Regions from separate parts of the Homo sapiens genome. Here region 2 is linked to region 1. The links are contacts of gene promoters, found by promoter capture Hi-C in human tissues and cell types (Jung and others, 2019). All regions are on one chromosome and are shown on one strand. Each heading gives the region's core, a stretch centred on a gene start or on the middle of the fragment in contact. The rest is flanking DNA. Distances are from core to core; before and after follow the strand shown. Region 1 holds the start of SLC13A5 (solute carrier family 13 member 5). Region 2 has its middle 17 kb from the start of MIR4520-1.

Region 1 (6,429 bases), core at 2,608-5,107:
CCTGTCTCGGCCTCCCAAAGTGCTGGGATTACAGGCATGAGCCACTGTGCCCGGCCATCTTTGCAAATGTTTATTAAAGGAATCAATAGCATTCATCTGAGTTTAACTCTGACAATGCTGCTGAAGAACAGATGCACCTGTACACAATCCCTGCTTCTCATCACCCAGAAGAGCGTATGTATTATTTGCACAAAACAGTGCAGGAAGACTTGGAAATTCTTTGTCAGGGTTGTGTTATCAGCCACAAAAAAATAAATCTTTTTTCAGCATCCCACGAGCAAACCAGGGCACCTCCCTACTGGGAGGCAGGGTCCCTCAGCCTCGGCACACTGACATTTTGGGCTAAATGATGCTTTGTTGTGGGAGCTGTGCACTGCAGGGTGTTTAGAGCACCGCTGGCCTCCACCTATGAGATGCCAGTAAGACTGTCTCCAGGTTGGACAGCAAAAAATGTCTCTGTACTTTGCCAAAGTTCCCCTGTTGTGGGGCAGGGTGAGGGCAGGAGAAAGGGTCAATGCTGGTTGACAGCCGCTGAACTAAAGGCGGAACAGCAGCGTGACTGGAAGCCCAGGCTTTGACACCAGACAGATATGATTGGCGCCCACTGTCAGCCACTGTCTGGCCTTTGGCAGCCACTAACTTCCTTGGGGCTTGGTGTCGGGGTGTACCCTGGGCAGGCCATCAGAATGATGCCTCCAGGGGCAGACAATGAGAGGGCGCATTGGAGAGAATTTTAAAACAATAATATTAGCTAAAAATTAGTTTGCTTCTTACTATCATCAAGTGATAGCAATTCTAAACAATGTCGCTCATAAATTACTCCTCCTGCTCCCAATCCTGGTCCCTGTCCCCTCTTGTTTCATGTCTTCATCTGCAAATCGTGGATTTAAGAGTGCTCATTCTTCCCATATGGCGCACAAAGTCCTCGGTAACTTTTGATTCTCTAAACTTAGAAGCAGTAGGTGGCGTGCGTCACCAATGTACACTGTGCGTTCCTGGAGGAGTCAAGCAGACCCACTAGGAAAGAGGACGAGACACAAGGTTAACTGCCCCCTCACCTCCGCGCCACTATTTAGAAGCCCAGGAGGTGCCTCATCCCTGAAGTCAACAGGCTTGACCCCCCTAGTCTAGAATGCCTCCACAGTGTCAAGGGAGAGGGCAGGATGGGAAGCGGATGTTAGAAAAGTTCAACATTAACAAGGCAGGGTGTCCTGACACACCACTTAATGAAAAAATGCAGGCAAAACCTACTGTGTGTGTGTGTGTGTGTGTGTGTCTGGGAAGAGAGAGAGAGATTCATCTGGAAAGATGTTCATCAAAATGTGAATAACTTATGGGATTTGAGTGTACTTTTATTTTTACTTTATATCTTACAGATTTGCAAAAAAGAAACCTTTTACATTTTAATAAAATAAGTGATACAAGAAATCTATCATTTATTTCATTAAATTTTTTTTCAATTAAAAAAAGACCCAGAGGAAGGATAGAGAGAGTGGAGCAGAGATGAGGCCAGGAGGGAATCCAGGTGGAGACAGGAAAACTGGAGACAGTCGGTGAGGAGAGAGGCCTGGGTGTTGGCAGAGGGTGGCGTGCCCTGGGAGTCACCTCCTGGCAAGGACTGTGTTGCTCAGGCTGCCAAGGTCCTCCCAGCTTCTCACCAGCTTCCCAGCTGCCCTGCCCGTGCTGTGTACCCTCTGGGTTTCCTTGCACAATGGGGCGGCCATGGAGGGTGGGGGCAGGGTGACCAAAACAGGCAGAAAGGGAAAAAACAAGAAGACAAGGTCCAGGGTCCTCACCCAACCCCGCCAGAAGGAAAGCTCGTGAAGGCAGCCTTTGGAAGGACTCTCCCTGGGTTCTCTTCTTCCCCTCCCTGGTCCTCACTCAAAGGACAGCTTAATCTCTCTCTCTCTCTCTCTTACACACACACACATACACACACATACACACACACTGAGTTAGGGTTTCCAGTTCAGGGTGTGTGTGTGTGTGTGTGTGTATGTGTATGTGTGTGTTTGTGTTTTTTGTGTGTTTTGTGTGTGTGTTTGTGTGTGTGTTTGTGTGTCTGTGTTTGTGTGTTTGGGTGTGTGTTTGTGCGTGTGTTTTTGTGTGTGTTTGTGTTTGTGCGTGTGTTTTGTGTGTGTCTGTGTGTTTGTGTGTGTGTCTGTGTGTGTTTGTGAGTGTGTGTGTGTGAGAGAGAGAGTGTGTATGTGTGTGTGTGTGAGTGGGGTCTCCTGTGGCAGGAAGGTCAGCCAAGCTACTATAATCATTCCAGGGAACATCACTCCCTACCAGCAGAGCTGAAATCGCAGCTCTCCTGCCTGGCTACTTCCCCTGGACAATAACAACCCCAGACTTCTTGCTACAGAGGAAGTGTGGCTGCCCACAGTTGGTGTGGCAACTGCACAGCCTCCACAGTTGGATCTGCTGTCCTTGACCCATCCAGGGCCTGTGCTAGGCCCACCCAAGGGCTCCTCCCAGTCTCCCCCTCCCCCATCCTAGGAACTAACGTTAATCCCTTTTGATTCCCAAAGCCTTAAAGTGTCAGAACCAAACCACCTAGCCCCATTGTACAGATGAGAACACCAAGGCCCAGAGAGCACAGGCACTTGGCTAAAGTCACACAGATGACAGAATGGTGGAAGTCCAGTTCTCTTGCAGGTTGGCTTCCTGACACCCCAGTGCACTCCCTTCCTCTAGAGCTCCCCCCCAGAGCATCCCCTGAAGAGCTCCTCTGTTTCCCAAACCTGCCTGGGGAGGGGAGGTGGGGAGCTGGAGGTTTCCTGTCTGGGCTGAGAGTGAAAGGGCTGAAAGAAGGAACGAGGAAGGAGCAGCCAGCAGCCACAAAAGGCTTCAAAGGGCTTGGGCCTCCGCCAAACTGGCTGTGCACAGCCCAGTGGAGCCTGCGCCCACCCTGCGGCCAAGGCCATTCATTCTCTCTCTCCCTCACAGAAGCATTAGGAGACTAGGGCCTGGGAGGAAGCTTCCCTGCAACTCCAGGTCCTGCCACCCAAGGCGCGAGCTCTGGGAATGTGTCCCGCCTCCTGCTACAGCCCCAGCAGGCAGGAGGCAAAGCAGGCCAACCCCAACCTGCCTGCAGCCTGGAGCAGGATTATGAATCAGATGTGGCTCTCCAGGTTGGAAGGAATGTGGATCATAGATAGAGACACTAAGGCCCAAGGAAGGGCCAGAGAGTGGCAAAGACAGCGCAGGATCCACGTGGGTGATGATTTTTTTCCTGTAGGTCCCTCCTGACGGCAGAAGCCACCTACAGCTTGAAGTCTTCTTTGGCGAAGGGAAAAGACAGGAGAGAGAGAGGGAAAGGCAAGCTCCCAGGTTCCCTGTTGGCGCAGGTGGCATTTTGGGGGGAAACAGGGTTATGCACTGTGGGAGATTCGATTCGGAGCCAGGGGCTGAGCCTAAGGCTGGGATCTGTGTGGCTGAGATCTGTGCTCACTTCGAGGTTTCCGTGCTTGCCTGGACGGCTCTTGCGCCCTGGGATCTGTAAACCCCAAGGGTGGTGCGCCCTGGGGTCGCCATGCCCCTCAGATTCTTTACAGGGCACCTCCCATCCGGCACCTGGAGCTCCTGAGTGCGCGCGCCCCGGGAGAGCTGTGCTCCCCGCGAAATCCGTGCGCTCCAGCTCAGGGCTCCCGGGATCGGTGCCCGTTAGTGGGCACAGGACGCCGGGTGTCCGAAGGGCTGCCTGGAGATGCAACTGACCTTGGCGGGCATCAGAATGACGAGTGGCAGCAGCAGGAGCGGGGTGACGAACAAGATCACGAAGGACTTGAACTTGGAGACATAGCTCAGCGCCGAGGCCATCGCGCGGGAGGGAGACTGGCGGGCGAGACGAGTGAGGGGCAGCTAGAGGCGCCGCGGGCTTAAGAAGGGGCCACAGTCCCCGGGGATTGGGGAGGGGGCGGTGACAACTCCGCCCCGCACGGGGGCGCCTCCCCGCGGCCCTGGGGCGGGGCCACCCCTCGGGGTCTGTGGGACGCGCCTGCCCCCAATTCTGCCACCCGGCGGCGGTGGGAGGCGTCTTTGGACTCCAACGCTTCGGGCCAGCCCTCTAGGGGCAGCCTGGGCCCTAGCATCTCGCGCTGTCCAAGCCTCTCCTGCGCTGCCGAGGCAGAGGTGCGTCCCGGGGCTGCCAAGCGGGGCGTGTTTTGGTCACTGGTGCTGCCCGCTTTGGCGTAAGGCGCCCTCCCGCGTCCGCATCTGCTCTTTCCTGGGCTCTGAAGGGTCCCGGATGAAACTCTCTGCAGGCCTCTGGGTCTCTCAGGTCTATCTCCCCGATCTCCCTCTCCTTTCCATCTCCTTACTTCCGCCCCTCCGGTGTCTCTCCGAGAGGTGTCCCCCCACGCCCCGCGCCCTCCGCACCGCGGGCCTCGCTTCCCGGTCCCCCCTGGCTTCCTCGCCACGTCCGCCCCACTCTAGGTGCAGGACCCCTTTTCCCCGCTCGCACTCTCCGGCCCGGAGCTCCTGGGCGATCGCACAGGGAAGCGAGGCCACTGTCCTCCTCTGTCCCAGGGGCTGTCGCGCTCCAGTGGACGCTGCACCCCGCAGACGCCCGGCGGGCAGATGCGGACACGCGTCTTGGAGGGGCCCCACCGAGCCTCAGCAGCCGCAGCTGCCCGCCCGACCCAGGTCAGAGGGAAACGGAGCTCTAGAGAGGAAGGGACACAACTAAGGCGACACTGAGACAGTCGCCCATGTATTCATTCAGCCCGCCAGGCAACAGACAGGTGCCGAGCACCTCTTCTCCGCGAGGCCCTGTTTTGGGCACTGGAGACACACGGATGCAAAGACATCCCCACCTCTGTGATTTTCTTCTTTCCTCTCCTCTGCCTGCCTCTCATTCTGCAGCTTCCTTTTGGGGAGTCTCATCCATGCTGGTGGCCTAACCACAGCCGGCTCCTTAGTGATTACCATCCTCTGCCTTCAACCCAGCCATGATGCCAGAGTCCCAGATGTCCAGCCTTCCGCAGACTGGACGTGTCTCGGCCCGAAAATTCAACACATCCTGAATCAAGCTCATGAGTTCCTTCCTGTGACCTGCACCCAAGGACATGCATTCTCCCAAGCCCCTCCTGCAATTGCCTCCCTCCTGTCCTTTTCCCTTTGTAACTCTCATGCATATAGCCCTGGGTTTTCCCGCCTTTCCTGTGTCCCCAGGGCACTTAGCACAATTTGTACCTCTTATATTTATTGGTGTAATTTTTACTTTTTACTTTTTTATTTTTTAAGTGTTATTTCATTTTTAATTGACAAATCATTGTCTATATTTACGGGGTACCATGTGATTTTTCAATGTGTGTATAATTGTGGTGTGTTCAAATCAGGCTAATGAGCATATTTATCACTCGAATATTTATCATTTCTCTTGTTTTTGTTTTTTGTTTGTTTGTTTGAGACAGAGTTGTGCTCCTGTCACCCAGGCTGGAGTGCAGTGGCACGATCTCGGCTCACTGCAACCTCTGCCACCTAGGTTCAAGCAAATCTCCTGCTTCAGCCTCCCAAGTAGCTGGGATTACAGGTGTGCACCACCACGCCCGGCTAATTTTTTGCATTTTTAGTAGAAATGGGGTTTCACCATGTTAGCCAGGCTGGTCTCGAACTCCTGACCTCAGGTGATCCGCCCACCTCGGTCTCCCAAAGTGCTGGGATTACAGGCGTGAGCCACCGCGTCTGGCCCAAATATTTGTCATTTCTTTGTGGTGAGAACATTTAAAATATCTTGTAGCTATTTTAAAATATATGACACATTATTATGATGTAATTTCTATTTACTGTCTGTTTTATTCATCACCACCTGTCCAGCTAGTGCCTTTCTCAGTGCCTAATCCAGGATGTGCACTCAAACCTTTTTCTCCGGGATGCATGAATGAGAGCAAGTAAACAACTTCAGTTCTTTTTTCTTTTCTTTTTTTTTAATTTTACTTTAAGTTCTGGGATACATGTGCAGAATGTGCAGGTTTGTTACATAGGTATACATGTGCCATGGTGGTTTGCTGCAGCTATCAACCGGACATTTAGGTTTTAAGACCCACATGCATTAGGTATTTGTCCTAATGCTCTCCCTCCCCTTGCCCTCCAACCCCCTGACAGGCCCCCGTGTGTGATGTTCCCCTCCCTGTGTCAATGCGTTCTCACTGTTCAACTCCCACTTATGACTGAGAACATGTGGTGTTTGGTTTTCTGTTCCTGTGTTAGTTTGCTGAGAATGATGGCTTCCAGCTTCATCCATGTCCCTGCAAAGGACATGACCTCATTATTTTTAATGGCTGCATAGTATTCCATGGTATGTATGTGCCACATTTTCTTTATCCAGTCTATCATTGATGGACATTTGGGTTGGTTTTAAGTCTTTGCTATTGTAAATAGTGTGCATGTGTCTTTATAGCAGCATGATTTATAATCCTTTGGGTA
Region 2 (6,429 bases), core at 1,589-4,088, 42 kb before region 1:
GTTTACTCCTATATCCCCAAACCTAGAACAGCGTCTGGCACAGAGCCAGCATGCAGTAAGTGTTGGTGGAAGGAATAAATGAAGGAATGAAGGAATGGTCGGGATGAATTTCTTGCCTGTGGTTCACTGATGAGAAGCTGGGGAAGGCTGAAGCAAACTCACACGTGCCCCTGACCTCGGTTGCTCCTTCTGTCAGATAAACTCCTGTTTGTCCTCAAATTCCTGCTCCATTTCCACCTCCCCAAGGAGACTTGCCTAGTCCTTGACTCTGAGCCCACTTCCTGGGTGTTCTCGCTCCCCACCGCTGCTGCCTGTTTTTACAGCATCCATGTGGTCACTCCGTGAATGATTCTTTGTTGTTTCCTCCTGTCTCTCCCGTGAGATTGAAAGCACATCAAGGGCAGGCCTGTCACAAAGCCTCTTTGTGTTCTGTAGCTATGCGTGGAGCGAATGAACAAGGTTGGGCTTGTCTGGACCTGGGCACGGTCACTGAATGTTCTTGGCCTCTGTAAGGAAGGGCATCCCCTTGGCAGTTAGCAGGGCAGGCACAAGGGGCATAGCATCCCCAGAACATGATGAAGGGCACCTTTGAAAAGCTAGAGAGGCTTTGGATAGAGCTGGAATTGTCTGGTGACATGTGCTCATTCATACTACATGGTCATTATACTACGTGGTCTTAGAATATGTCAAATTCTCACCTTTTCATCCACCCACAATTCACTGAGTTCCCGTTCAGTGCCAGCTTCTGTGATGGGTAATAGTGGTGGGAAACATGCAGAACTGGATGATCAAGTTTAGAATGAGATCGTGCCTACTGTCGGAGCAGTCCAGGAGGGGTGACCCCAGGATCCCTTCTTCCTTTGCCTTCCATCTATTCTAAATTGTCTTCAGCTGGTGATGCACCAGCTGGGCATCCAGACGTCAGCTGGCTTAAACAGACCGCTGTGCTTGCAACAAGCAAGACACTTCAGAACTTGCAGAATCACTGCATCCCTTTCTTAAACCAAGACCCAACCCCACCATCTCTTTCTTTTCCTTTCTGGTTTGGCCTCTGTAGGTGTGACATCAGAGACACACCTCAGCGGATGTGACTCAGTGAGCACCATTCAGACTCCCCAGGGCCACTCCCATGAGCTGGCCAGGTGGGCAGGCTTTGCTGAGCCTGTCTCCCCACCGGTCTGAGGTCTGCAGATTAGGCTTCCAGACAGGGAGCGGCAGGGCAGGCCCCTCAGTGGGAAGACAGGAGTGTCTGTATGGCCAGCCGGGAATCAAGAACCATTCACCCTCCACCAGCAAGGGTGGGGCTGCCCTGAGCTTTCAGGCAGCTGTTTTATGGAATTATTAATTTTAATGTACAGATGGTTTTATTTTCTGCTCATTTTCACATATTCTAAGAACCCTTAAATGTTATACTATATAGTCTTTTTTTTTTTTTTTTTTTTTGAGACAGAGTCTTTGTCACCCAGGCTGGAGTGCAGTGACGCAATCTCAGCTCACTGCAACCTCCACCTCCCGGGTTCAAGCAATTCTCCTGCCTCAGCCTCCTGAGTAGCTGGGATTACAGGTGCCTGCCACCACATCTGGCTAATTTTTGTATTTTTAGTAGAGACGGGGTTTTGCCATGTTGGCCAGGTTGGTCTCGAACCCTTGACTTCAGGTGATCCACCCACCTCGGCCTCCCAAAGTGCCAGGATTACAGGCTCAAGCCACCGCGCCCAGCCTATAGTCTTAATATTCCCTATTTTAAAAAATATTCATGGCGGCCATACTAGAGCCCCCGGGATATAGCGGAGAGCACTGCCCTCATGGTCTTTAGATACACGTCTTTCATGGTTCTGTTGAATGACTTCCTTACAACACATTCCCAGGAGCAGAATTACCACATTAAAAGGTATGAACATTTTTATAGCTCTGGAAGCGTATTGCCCAATTTCTCCCCTAAAAAGGTGGTGTTAATTTACACTGCCACTGGCAGTGTGTGTAAGCTGGTTTCAGCACAGCTTCAACAGCATGAGACATTATAATTTTGTTAATGTTTGCTAATTTCATAGGTGTGAAATGAATGGCACATCAGGGGGACTTTAATTTGCGTTCCCTGGTGATCGTGAGGGTGAGCCTGTTTGGAGGTGCTGATGTGCACAGTCTGCCTAGTGGGGGCCTCTCCGCCCTGTCTCAGGCACTGTCTGTTTCTCAGCCTGTGTCTCCCCACACCTCTGCCTGCCTCCCGCCGACTGCTGTTCTTACTGTCCCTCTAAGCCTGTCTGTCTCAGTGTCTTAGCCTCTGATTCCTCTGAGTTTCTCTGGTTCCTAACTGGCCAGGTGTGGAGCTGGTTCATGGAGGTCCTAGCCAAGCCCTGACAAGCTGCAGTCTAGAGGCGGGGCGCAGGGTTCTGGGCACAGGGCTCCAGGCTCCTGCCTCCAAGGGCTCCCTCCCCGGGGAGCTCCCTTTGTGAACTCACATGGTGCCCTGCCCTTCCTTCCACCAGGGCCTCACCAAAGGCCCCTTTCATTTCTCCAGGTAGCCTCAGCTGGGCTGACCTGCTCGATTGGATCCAGTGATTCTGAGATCCCAGAAGTAGCTGGGAGTGAGCAGGCTGTCCCTCAGTGACTCCCTCTTAGGAAGTGTTCCAGAAGCCCCACCCTCAGGACAACTCACCAGACAGTGTTGTGTGTCCTGGCCGTTGGGGGTGTGTGGTCTGAAAGAGCCAGAAAGTGGTGTCCCCAAAGTCCAGATGTGTGGACAGTAGACAGGTCCACAGAGGTGACAATGGCGCCGCCTGCCTACCTTCTCCAACGAGCCCCTTACCTGAAGTGGCAGAAAGAGCTCACCTCTCAGGCCAAACCCCACTTGGCACCAGGTGGACGGGGGGCCACCGAGGCCCCATGGTTTAGCAGGGTCAGAGTGGGGCTGTCACCCTGCCCACTTTCAATGGCGTGGAAGAGTCTTCAACACTTGGGAAAGTTTCAGAAAGACTCTAGAGAGGCAGCTGGCTTCAAGGGAAGGCTGTGTGGATGTACTTGGCGAATCCTCATGATCAGTGAGTTGCTGACTCCGGGCTCTGGACCTGCCCTGTGGCTGCTTGTCTTTGAGGCAGGTCTTGAGGGCTCTCTGCAGTCACCTCTCAGGCCCTGTGGGTGGTCCCAGCCTATTAGAATCGTAGATTGATACCAGCCAGAAGGGAACTCTGACATCAAGTTCTCTCTCTTTTTTTTTTTTTTTTTTTTTTTTGAGACGGAGTCTCTCTGTGTCGCCCAGGCTGGAGTGCAGTGGCGTGATCTCGGCTCACTGCAACCTCCACCTTCCGGGTTCCAGCGATTCTTCTGCCTCAGCTGCCCGAGTAGCTGGGACTACAGGCGTGCACCACCATGCCCGGCTAATTTTTGTATGTTTTAGTGGAGATGGGATTTCACCATGTTGGCCAGGCTGATCTCAAACTCCTGACCTCATGATCCACCTGCCTCGGCCTCCTAAAGTGCTGGGATTACAGGCATGAGCCACCACGCCCGGCCCTACCCTCTCATTTTATTTAACATTTTAACGTTAAGCTTTTAAAAAATTATACAAATAATGCATGCCTGTTTCTAGGATATTTGGAAAATACAGAAAACTATAAAGGAGAAAATATTAATCCTTCTATCCGTTCATCAAAGATAACTGCTATTCTATTTCAATATCAACCTTTTCTGTGCTCGCATATTTTTATTATCACTACGACCATACATTATACGTGATTTATTTACCTCCGATTATATGCATTTTCAATATAACGAAATATTCTTTAAAAACACTGTTAATGACTGCATAATAGTCTTTTGAGCTGACACACCTTAACTAATATTACCTAAATGTCAGGCATGTATGTTTTCAGTTTTTCAAGGATATAAAAATATACCAAAGTAAACATCTTGGGACAGGCGTCATGGCTTACACCTGTAATCCCAGCATTTTGGGAGGCCAAGGTGGGCAGATCACTTGAGGTCAGGAGTTTCAGATCAGCCTGGCCAACACGGTGAAACCCCGTCTCTACTGAAAATACAAAAATTAGCTGGGCATGGTGGCAGGTGCCTGTAATCCCAGCAACTCAGGAGGCTGAGGCAGGAGAATTGCTTGAACTGGGAGGGGTGGAGGGGTTGCAGTGGGCTGAGATCACGCCACTGCACACCACAGCCTGGGGGACAGAGTGAGACTCCATCTCAAAAAAAAAAAATACTGGGTGTGGTGGCTGACGCCTGTAGTCCCAGCTACCTGGGGACTGGAGTGGGGGAGGCTGAGGTGGGAGGATCACTTGAGCCCAGGAGGCAGAGGTTGCAGTGAGCCAAGATCGCCCCACTGCACTCCAGCTTGGGAGACAGAGTGAGACTCCGTCTCAAAAACAAAACAAAAAATACTAAAGTAAGCATCTTTATGCATAAATTTTTGTCCACAATTTCATTTTTCCCTTAGCTTAGATTCCTACTCATAGGGTATAGGCATGTTTTAAGATTTCGCATGTGTATTTTTATTTTACTTTTGAGAAAGGTTGAACTAACACATGCCCATCTCGCCACACACCATCAACTACACCAAGAAATATCATTCAAAGAAACATCGACTAACTCGAAAGACAGTATTTCTGTTGCCTCCTTTCAGTGATCGGTCAGCTAAGTCTTGGAGAGGAAAAGGGACATGACGAGGGTGGTTCTAGGAGTGTGTTATTTCATTCTGTCTTCACAGCAACCCCATATAAATAGCAAGAAGTGGAGGAGCTAAAGCACGCAGATTAAGGTTAAGGAACTTGCCTGGCCGGGCACAGTGGCTCACGCCTGTAATCCCAGCACTTTGGGAGGCCGAGGCAGGTGGATCACCTGAGGTCAGGAGTTCGAGACCAGCCTGGCCAACATGGTGAAACCCCGTCTGTACTAAAAATAGAAAAATTAGCCAGGCATGGTGGTGTGCACCTGTAATTCTAGCTACTCAGGAGGCTGAGGCAGGAGAATTGCAGGAGAATTGCTTGAACCCAGGAGGTGGAGGTTGCAGTGAGCTGAGATCGCGCCATTGCACTCCAGCCTGGGCAAGAAGAGCGAAACTCTGTCTCAAAAAGAAAAAGAAAAAGGAACCTGCCTGGACTCACATTCGGTTACTAAGAGTTGGAGCCCGAGTTGGAGCCTGTGCCGTTGGGCCCCAGGGCCCTTGTACTTCATGTCACCTCCATGCCACAGCTCCTGTTCCCAGCTGTGATGCTGGAATGTGGATTGGAACCAAGTCATAAAGAAACTTGGAGTTTGGATTTACCCTATAGACAGAGAGAGGCCCTTGATGGGTCCTTAAGCATCAAAGCTGGGTTTTACAGAGATGTTTCTGGTGGACTGGCTTGAGGGAGACAGGAAATAGGGAGGTCAGCTGGGAAACGCAACATACAGATAATGCGATTGACAAACAGGGCTCGCACGGAAGCACACGTGCCTATGGTTGTGGGAAGTGGGCAGTTGGGAATGCTGAGGGTCTCAGAGGCCTCCCACCATGCCCTCTTCACTGAGCAAAGGCCATTTTTATCTGCTACACGTCAGGCAAAACCTGCGCCAACTGCCAAAGCCTCCACCTCAAATCTAGCAAATAAGAGAGAGGACGGTATGGATTACGTTATATTTAAAACAAGCCCACACAATGCCTGTAATTTTTCATTCTGACTCCGTAATTATAACTCAAGACCAGTCAGATCATAGTTATCCCCACACCGACCTGCTGTTGGGACACATGGAATTAAAGGCTTTGCTCCCTTCAAATTCTATTTTGGAGGCCGAGCACTGGCAGGTAACGGGCCTTTCTCAAGGCCCGTCTTGTTGGAGCCCCTCCCGGGGCAGCCTCCACGAAGGCCAAGTCAGCACCAGGGTTTCGGGAAGACCACGGATGGTGTGGGAGCAGTTGAGATGCTACCGCTTTGCCCGACCTGAGCCCTGGGCCTCGGGGCTGAGCCAGGGGCCTGGAAGCAGAGGTGAGCACCGTCCTTGGACCAGACCTTGGGCAGGTCTATCCCAGAGCATCTGCACCCTCGAAGATTCCCAAATGCTGCTCTACCCTGGACCTGACCAGGGTCCCAGGGTCAGATGGGCCAAGCCCTGGTTGTCCGGCACACTTGTCACAGACAGGCTGCTATTGCCCAAAGGGGCCTAAATTCAGAGAAGAAGAAGAAGAAGAAAAACATCCAAGGAGTGTGAAGGGGCCAGGCTTCCATGGACAGCCTGGCTAACCAGGCCTAGGCCAACTAAGCTTTTCTTCCAGTGTGAGCACCACCCCTCAGCCCCACAATGGCACCCTAGACAGAGCCAGAGTGGGACTGGCTCCCTGCTCGTGGACCTGGGTTACCAGCAGGAGTCAGGAGGGCCAACTGCCCTTTCTCCACACGGCCCTCCCAGGCCCAGTCCCACCTCCCCATAGCCTTGCGGGGGAGG

What was found. Contacts are between HindIII fragments. The study calls those that stand out against the background at their distance.
Region 2: a fragment that was not itself captured here is called in contact with the fragment with the promoter of SLC13A5 in region 1 in 1 of the 25 tissues and cell types used here (ovary).

What each region holds. Positions count from the first base shown.
Region 1 is chr17:6,709,512-6,715,940 of GRCh38, forward strand. It overlaps SLC13A5 (solute carrier family 13 member 5), which reads right to left and starts at 3,858. Exons shown (of 12, transcript NM_177550.5): 1 at 3,721-3,858. The coding sequence starts at 3,822. The HindIII fragment of the contact is 16,548 bases long and covers 1-6,429 here.
Region 2 is chr17:6,668,868-6,675,296 of GRCh38, forward strand. No RefSeq gene overlaps it. Among named protein-coding and RNA genes, the nearest start is that of MIR4520-1, 17 kb to the left of the region's middle. RefSeq lists a silencer at 1,324-1,478. The HindIII fragment of the contact is 4,115 bases long and covers 782-4,896 here.